Regions from separate parts of the Homo sapiens genome. Here region 1 is linked to region 2. The links are contacts of gene promoters, found by promoter capture Hi-C in human tissues and cell types (Jung and others, 2019). All regions are on one chromosome and are shown on one strand. Each heading gives the region's core, a stretch centred on a gene start or on the middle of the fragment in contact. The rest is flanking DNA. Distances are from core to core; before and after follow the strand shown. Region 1 has its middle 29 kb from the start of LINC02476. Region 2 holds the start of CPED1 (cadherin like and PC-esterase domain containing 1).

Region 1 (4,934 bases), core at 1,354-3,853, 1.1 Mb after region 2:
TTAAATTTTAATGAAGCCTAACATCAATTTTTCCTTTCATGGATAGTGTTTCTGGTGTTATATCTAAAAAGTTATCACCAAACACATTGTCGCCGAGATTTGCTCCTATGTCACCTTGCAGAGGTTTTTGTGGTTTTCATTTTTATATTTAGGTCTATTGTGTATTTGAGCTCATTTTTATGAGACATATAAGATATATATATATATTCATTTTGCTGTACATAGATAAGCATTTTTACAGTTTAGAATCTTGTTTAGAATCAGTTTGTCAATATCTATAGTGTAACTTGCTGGAATTTGGACTGAAATGGCATTGAATCCATTAATTATGCCTGAAAGAATCAACACCATAATCATAATTAGTGTTCCAATCTATGGATCCAGCATATTTCTCCAGTTGCTTTGGTCTAGTCTCTTTTTACTCTGCTGCCTGGCTGCTGTGGTATCTCTCAATGAGGGAAGGCCATAGGGGAAGGGGTGGCTGGGGAGGAGGGGAGGTTCAGATCTAGCAGGAAAAGAGAGTACTTCCTATGGTTGCTTGTTGGTAATAGGTTCTGATTTTCCTTGATGGTGATACAATACTGCTTGTTGTCAGATGACTTTCGTTGGGTAAGAGGAAAGAATAAGGCAATCTGTACTGCCTGCTCTTCCTAGGCTGGGAACTGGGAAATGCCAGACCTAGTCTTCCCCTTCTATTAGTGGAGACACATACAACATCCTAGCACTGTGTTCTTTCTTCAGTCTTGGTATTCCAAACCACTTTGCCTTTCCCTTACCACCTTGCAGAGTTCTTTTGGTTACTTCTTGCATTATTCACAGGTTTTATATCGTACTTAAAGGGGAGGAACAGGGAGAAATGAATCTATGACGTCTTAGCTGGACCTGAATTCAGCATCTTAACTTTTGGCGAAAAGCCTGATAGTTTCTTATAATCTTAGCATACCTCTTCTTGACAATTTCAGTTTCTGATATTTGCTCAGGGGAATAAAAATTTTAAAAAACGTGAAAAAACAAAGCTGATTTATTCATAATTGCTTCATTCCAAACCGGAAACAGCAGAAAGTCATTCAGTGTGGAAATAGATTTTTAAAAATCTGCTGCATATTCATACAATGGAATACTATTACGCAATAAAAAAGAATAAAATATTTAGGCAGCAACAAATATTAATTTCAAAAATATTATGTTGAATGAAAAACCATTATATAGAATAACACATAATGTTTACCATAATGTTTATTTCTATTTTTCTCAGTTTCTGGAAAAAGCAAAATTGATTTATGGTAGAGAAAATTCAAAAGAATCATCATTGTTCTTGGGGTGGTGAGAATGTGTATTGACTTTGAAAGAGCAAGAGGGAAATTTCTCAGGCGATGGTAACATTTTACATTTTGTTAAATGTTTGGATTTCACAGGTGAATGCATTGGCCAGAATATCTGAGACATCTACAATTAAGATCTGTGCATTCAGTTGTGTATAAAATTTACCTAAGCAGTTTACAAATATTAAACATTAGTTGATAATATGCATGCTTAAATATTTGGAAGAAAGTATATGGGTATCAACAACTTAATTTGAAATACACAATAAGGTATATTGACTGATCATTACAGAAATGGAAAGGTGGAAAGATGTATAATATGTATAAAAATTTAATTGTCAAATCTAAAAAGTGAGTGTTTAATTATCAGCACAAAATTCTCAAAATGTCTTCAAACTTCTTCATGCTTGTTAAATTTTAATAATAAAATACTGAAAGAATGGCAGAATGCTTGCTTCCCTTTGATATGTACTAAAAATGTCTAATGTCTTTATTTGGGATATTCAGCTCTTTGTTCTAAGGATCTAATTTACCCTGTGCATCTCTTTCATGATGGATAACTACTAGTTTTTTTAGGGCGGAGAAAATCATGTATGTTAAGTATGACATCTGCTTAATGAGTAACATCTGCACCAATAAGTATGACGCACTGTACATGATATGCTCTATCTTGTAGTATTAAACTTTTTTTCTGATTACATCTTCCCAGATGTTTGTAGTTTAACTGTATCTTACTCAGAGGGGTACACTTTTAACTAGCATTTTCTGAATACAAACCTCAAGGTATTCATATTATACAACCAATTTTAGCACAAGGGATGACTGCTGGGATAAATTAGGGACAATAGAGAGGTTATTACATCATATCATGGAACAAAACCCTAGCAAGCATGCAAACTCTGTACTTGGGTTAACATTGCAGCAGATTACACAGCTGTACTCAAAATTGAAACTTTTAACATGTATTTATATCGATAATTATAACTAATGCAAACAGAGAGGTAAAGTAATTGAAACAAACAAACAAAAGAAACACAGTACTACCTCTGGCAAGACATCACAAAATAGTTTACAGTTTATTCAATGAAATTTATTCAAGTTGTTATAACTCAGTGGCAATACTATTTTAGAAAATACATTTTTATATCTTCTCTTTTCTTTGGTTAAAAATAGCTTTCACTGACAAATAGAAATTTTGGGGTTTGTTTTCTTCCTAAGTCAAGTTCTGCATTATGAAATATTCTATTAAATATTGATGGGTATTAAGAAACAGGTACTACTTTTACAATATTTAAAATATTGGGATTATATTTCCATGAGTTTTGGTAACTTTTCAACAGCTAGGAGTCTTGGCACCAGAAAAATAATTAGCATCACCCAGATGTAGCTCTATCAACTATTAGACTATTCTGTAGCAATATTTTTTTCTAAAAATTTTGAGCAGATAATTGGAAATTAAAATCAGGCATTAAGAGAATAACAGTTTTTATTTCAAAGCTATTTGCTACCCTTCTGCCTTCTACCCTCTGCATTTTACATACTTATAAATCTGAAATGAAAGCATTTTCTTTGGTTAAAACCATATTCTCTTTTAAAAGCAACATTTTGGAGTTTTATGAGAGTAATTAAAATTGAGAAGCTCGATGATATCCAAACCTGAACTGTTTTGAAAAATATAAATGATGTACTTAATATGTGTAATTGCTAATTTATATTTCTTGTTCTAAAACTGGTTATTAAACAATCATGCAGAAACAAAATATAATTGACGTCTTTTAGGATGAGTTATTTTTTCAAACAATTTAAAAGTATGGTTATAGTTATAGACCAACATGTAAGCAATTATGAGATTTATGAATCTACTGACAATTCTCTAGCTTCAACTCATTTATATGTTGATGAAGCTTACTAATGTTTTGGAACAATCAAACTGATAGTTATATTACTTAAAGGAAACAACTTATTACTAAACAGATTTTATACTATCATTAATTCTTAATCACTTGAAATGACAACTGAATATTTTTAGTCCCTAAAAATATAACCAAAGCTATTATGTTATTTTAGATAGGATACAGAAGTAATCTAAGGATTCATTTCCGAAATACTGCCATCTTGTGGTATTCTTCACAGAACATCTAACAGTCATTTATGATACGGACTTTGGGTAAAAACAAGAAGGGTACTCTAATGACATAAATAGACCCAAATGAATACCGTGGAAACCTAGAGAGTGAAAATAATCTTTATCTTAAGAACTATGAAAGATCCCCTTAGTATTCATCTGGATGAGGAGTTCCAATACAATATTTTATAAGCAAAAAGAGATAATTTATCTTATTTGTCTATACATTTCTTAATAGAAAATAATTCAAGGAGAAAGTGAATCAATACTAATTTTCTCTCTGGAGAGAAAATACTGTTTTGTCTCAATCCAATTCATTTCAATACAACTACTCACTGAGCATTTTTAATAGAAGGTTTACACATTATTTGGCAACAAACACAGGGCTGTGACTACTCTTTGATTTCCTTTTGGGTCTTTATGACCCAGGTCTCATTTGTGTTATGACTTGTATTATAAAGTTCCAGGGGTTGTGCCTTATTTTTACACCGTTGAGTTGTTTGGCGCTCAGGGTCATCTGAATTATCCTCACTCTCTTCAGCGACAGAATACAGACCTGCAACAGATATGGAAATACACCTCTTAGCTTATAATCTATTTTTTTCACTGAAATGTAATTATTTAATTGTTTACTTATTCACTAGTTTGACCCCTAATTTAGTGCAACTCTTTCCAAAAGCAAAATTTACCACCAATAAAGATGGATAAAGGATATTTGACATGATTTGAAGATCACTTCAAAAATTCTTTAGAAGTTATTGGCAAAACTGCAATCTTCATTTGGATCTATAATCTCTGTTATATTAACTCATTAAGTCAAATGATCAATCATGCTATTTTATGGTTTTATTTTTAGGGGTTCATTAGTTACACAAACATTAAATAAAGATAATGAAGCTATTATAAAACTTAGGGAAAGAGTAGTTTCATGGTCCTTTGCACTGAAAGGTTGCCTAGATCTCTAGTAATGCACCAAAAGCATTTGATAAATTGTGAACATGAGAACAATGTCTGTAAACACTTTCAAGATCAGCTTAGGCGTCCTCTGGTAACTGAAGCAGAAGGAAGCATTTTCAAAGTGATGCCAGAGCAAAATGCCCTTAAGCTTTGAGTATTGAAGCAGTTTTCACACAATAAAAGAAAAACTCCTTATGAGGCAACTTTGCCCTTGCTCTCAAGACACTCTTATTTTCTGCAGCAGAAATTAATGTGAATACTATCAATGAACCCAACCTTGTAATAAGCTTTGCTTATATCTTTGGCAAATGTTTTGTGTTTCTCTGCATCCTGGTCCAAAAATTTCAAGTGCTTTTACTTTCCATGATGAGATATTAACTATAGAGAAACTTCAGTATTTTCCTTCAGGACTGAATCCCTCACCCCGTGGCATAATCAAGAATATTGCTGCCCTTCCTCTTTAAGTCTTTAAATACTCAATTTCAAATTCAAAGTAATCAATTTTAATAGGAGGAAAAAGCATAATGGTT
Region 2 (4,643 bases), core at 1,801-4,300:
TGGTGAAGAAAATTCTCAAGTGAATGTTTTACACCAGGAGCCAGTAAGTTTCAGATGGTTTATAAGTAGTAGGAGATTCAAAGTTGAAATCGAATTTTCTATGACAGCCCACAAATAACAGCTAACATATGCCTAAATTACAAACAAAGTAGGAATCACACAGAGTGAACAAGGGGAGTAAGAAAGCTGTAAGTTCATGAATAAAACCTTTTCATTCAAAATTCCTAGCAAAAATTTTAGGCATTAAATAAGAGCAAGACTATCTCAACTATTTTTTAAGAAATTGCCTTTCTCAATGTTGAAACTAACAAGAAATGACTTTAACAGTCACAGTTTACATCCATTGTAACTGTGATGTAGTCAGGAAAAGAAAAAAGTTAATGCTAGTATAAATGAACAACAACAACAAAAATACACATTCTTCAATAACTTTACTGTGCCTAAAAATAGATGTACAATTTCAGTTGCAGTTTCATTTTAAAGTGTTTCAACTTATATTATCTACTATTCTTTGTCATAAGATAGTTCTTGGTCAGGATGTTTCCTGGCATTACGGATAACAAATGAAGTCACTTAAAAGTTTAAAATTTTCCTTGTTTTAACTTAATGTTATTTTGTATTTCAGTAAGTTCTTGTAGTTGTGGTTTCAAAAATTATTACAAGGGCTTTGAATTGACTTTTATTTGGAGCATCAGCCCTGCAGTAGGAACCAAGCAGCTTGATAGCTATTGCTCTGGGGATGCATCTTGTCATAATGCTAACCATGTGACCTACCTAAATGGCACTGTCAGGCTCCTTGTTCATAAAATGCTAATAATCCTATCTACTGTACCTGTCTCACAGGGCAGTAGTCTGAAACGAAATAAATAAAAGAGTTTTTAAAAGAAGTGGTGCTGGTCAATCGTGGAGGTTTTGGTAATAATGGTAGCAACGGAGCTGGTGTTCAAGTAGAAATTCTACTTCAAACGGTAACCGGCATCATAAGATCGACCAGAATCTACTGTAGATATAAGATGCTACTTACAGAGCCCTCTATTTTGTTGCTACAATACTACTTGTTGTAACATAAAATTTAGTAGCTTTGCCACCATGATCTTTTTTGCATGGATTTTTTTTTATTTCTTCATGTTCTGTTTTACACTTGACTATGTTACAGGTCATTATATTACTGATAGGCATGAGGAGAGTGGTATATTAAAATAGAAATCCTGTGTTACTTTGTGTGCTTTTTGTGTTTTTTTTCAATATTTGACAAGTAAGATTAGTAAGTTTATCTGAATAGTATAAATATAGAATAATCTGTATTTCCCTGATCCTATAAACAATAAAATACATTGTATCAATTCTTTTGAAGAAACCTATTATCCTATTATTTTAATGCTTTCGAAGTAAATATATTGCTTTAGAAATGTGGTCACCAATTAAGAATCAATCTAGCTAGTTACAAAATGAAACTTTGGAGAATCTTTGAGTCTGGAATGGTCTGGGCACTCATACTGACTGCCTTGAGAAAAGAGACACTCAAGGTTTATCAAAGTTTTTGAAACTTTGATTTATGTTTTTGAATTGTAAATCCTCAGATCTCTTAGAATACTGATATTTTAGAAAGAATCCACATCATTTTATGCCTCCTCCAAACTGTCTACTTCATTCCACTGAAATGAAGTGAAATCCTAAGAGATAAAGTAATGCCAGAACTTTCTGGAAGTAACTATAAGAAGTTGAAGCTTATGTAACGTGTTTCCCAGTCATCAGGTCACTCTCTAGGCTGTTTACACTCTGGATCCCTTTCAGACCTCATGGAAGTTAATTTTAGTTTTATAGAAAGGACAGAGAAGCAGATTGCTGTCTTTGCAGAAACTGTCTCCGTTAAGCTTATGAGAGTCTTACCTTTCTGGTTTCCTGGGCATTACCAGAGAGAAGGAAGCACTGTTTGTCCTGAGAGAATCCTTTCTTGCATCTGCTTGCCTGGGTTTCAGTGGATGTGTGTGGGACAGCCCCAGGGGCAGCGGCTGTGAGCTTCCTCGACCCTCGGAGGGTCAGAGTCTGGTAGAAGAGACAGATTGCCACCACTAAGCCCACCAAGAAGGGTCGGGGGCAAAATCGCCGACGACAAGGGAACACTGGGCGACAGACCATGACCAGTTCAGCTTCACTTGGCCCCTGTCCACGTTGCGGGAAAAGTCATAGCAGCTATTTTTTGTCAGCATGAAAAATACTAATCTGTCTTCTTTTTCCCCAACTCCAATCAAGTTTGCTTCATCCCTGCTTAAGAATTTTCCAAAAGGTTGTGCCAAAGAATCATAGGTCCCGAAAGTCTGAGGCTTTTAATAAGAGCTCTTCCATGGATGACAGTCAAAAGTGGATGACCTGAGTTTAAAAAAAGACATCAAATAATAATAGTTGTAACGAATAACCTGAGTGTACCCCAGGCTGCCAAACTGTTGCTTCCAGCAATGCCTTATTCTCACATCTTTCAACTCACAGTAAAGGAGTCCGACTCTGCCTCAGCTTTGCAGGAAGAGAGAAAACAATACCAAAGTATATCTGGAGTCTGAAAACAGCATTGAAGAACGCAAAAGATTAAAACCCAAAGTGCCTGTTGCACAGCTGAACTCAGGCCAGGTTGCCTTAGCAGTTCCTCAATTTTCCTCCGGTTTTAAAGCAGTCTTGCTTTCAGCCTTTTGTATGCTTCCCTTCATTTAGTTTTAAATTCCCACTGTCCTGTAAGTATTCACGGCTTTTAACATAAAAAGGGCATACGCAATTTGAATGGACATGGTTACTGTCAGGGTTTTTGCTTGAATTTGTTTCATTCCGTCTCAAGTTCAAAGTTCTATGTACTTACTCAGTTTTCATCCTTTTAGCCAGGAAAAAAAAAGTTTCCATGATTTCCTAATGGATTGCTGATGAAAACCACTCGGAAGGAAACACCCAGTCGTATGACTCCAATTCATCTCACACACACACAGAGAGAGACACACACACACACGCACACAGACACATAAACACACGCGCGCGCGCCCGCTGCACGCCCGGCGGGAGCAGAGGACCTCGGCATCGCAGCCACCCGGGGCCGGGCAGAGCGGGGCGGAGCTAAGGCCGGGTTCCTCTGGCCCTGGGGGCTGCTGGAGCAGCGCTGTCAGCCCTGTGTCCGAAACCGTGGGCTTCCCCACTTTGGAAACAGCAGCTAGCATTTCCCCAAATGAGGCTGCCCACCCAGAGCTGCAGAATTTAGAAACGTATCTGATGTCTGATCCTCTGTGCAACTTCTTTTTCCTAATACAGAATTGGAAAAACAAATAGCCTTAGCCAATTGGTGACAAAGGTCGAGAATGAGACTAAAGTGAACTCCATGAGTGAATTGGGATATTCTTCACTCCAGGGAATTGTGGTTACTCTTCTGAGGATAAGAGGGTCACAAGTACTGTCTGGACCTCAGACAGCAAGCACCAGAATAACTCAGTCGTCTCTCTGTGTCTTAGTATGGAACTCAGATCACAGATGTTCTTATTACTCCTTTCCTGGACTAATTAATTGGGTCTTTCAATGATCTGATGCTTCATGGCCTGACATTTTGCTCCTAAAATGAGTCGATTATAGCAGGTGTTGGGGGTAACTTTTGCCCAGTAGATAAAGGTACACAGTGGGCTTTGTCCAGAATCAGCTCAGTCTAATTCTGTGCAGACCTTCGGGTGGACGCTGCTAATAGTGCAATTCTGCAAACCCCCTTCCACTTTTGCTGAGGCTGTCAAGGCGAAAGGAAATCAGTCCTTGCTTTGTGAACTCTGGATACCCAGGGCTGTCTTAGCGCATAGCAGGCATTATTTAAAGGCTCTGGACCTGAAGAGGTTTTCAAACTTGTTTCTAAGCCAAACTCTTGTGGGTTGAGGTTCTCCGTGAGGCCACACCCCTAGAGTGAGCCTCACCCAGAGGCACGCTGCTGTCAGCCCCTTGTATTTTGAGAGACGGAGCGCCCCCTAGGGGTGCCCAGCTAGCACAGATTCAGAGAAATGGGCATCTAGAGTTCCTTGCTTGTGAGAAAGAAACCCTTTTAACATCCTATAGAACAAATTAATTAACACATTACAGAAGAAATATTCACACGGAAGCTGGATTTATCCCAAGCCCTTGCATGTATCGCCTCCAGTGGCTTTAATATTATTTTATGTATAGGTTCAGAGTCCTTAATCTTATGACAAATGGGATAGAGAAAAATAAAGTGATGCTTCACTTTTAGAAGCCAAAAGAGTTTTAAGAGAAAATGGCTGAACAGTGGTGTTGTAGGACATATCGTTTTGGTGGATGCAATGTGATTTGAGAGATAATAAGAATTGTGAGATTTCTAAATTGGAATCCAGGGTGTGACAATGCTGTTACTGAGTGATAAGGAATAGGCAGACAGTTCTATTAAGTTCTGTTAAGGCAAGAAGTCTGAAAAACAGAGTTTGGGGAATCTAAAGAGTCATTCTTATGCTTTATTAAATTGTTGAGAACAAGGTACAGAAGAAAGTAAATCAGATGCTAAAATAAAATTGCCATTCGGTTGGGAGAAATGAAAGACAACAGTATTGAAAATTTTAAGATAATATAGCTAGACTTCAAATAATGGGAATTGGGAAGAAGGTGGAAAATTAGTATCC

Evidence for each region. The method cuts DNA at HindIII sites, captures the fragments that hold promoters and counts their contacts. A contact is called where the count stands out against the background at its distance.
Region 1: a contact is called between a fragment that was not itself captured here and the fragment with the promoter of CPED1 in region 2, in 1 of the 25 tissues and cell types used here (heart left ventricle).

What each region holds. Positions count from the first base shown.
Region 1 is chr7:119,934,121-119,939,054 of GRCh38, reverse strand. No RefSeq gene overlaps it. Among named protein-coding and RNA genes, the nearest start is that of LINC02476, 29 kb to the right of the region's middle. The HindIII fragment of the contact is 4,038 bases long and covers 585-4,622 here.
Region 2 is chr7:120,987,118-120,991,760 of GRCh38, reverse strand. CPED1 (cadherin like and PC-esterase domain containing 1) reads right to left here and starts at 3,050. Exons shown (of 23, transcript NM_024913.5): 1 at 2,849-3,050; 2 at 1,891-2,370. The coding sequence starts at 2,139. RefSeq lists an enhancer at 3,795-3,874. The HindIII fragment of the contact is 8,627 bases long and covers 688-4,643 here.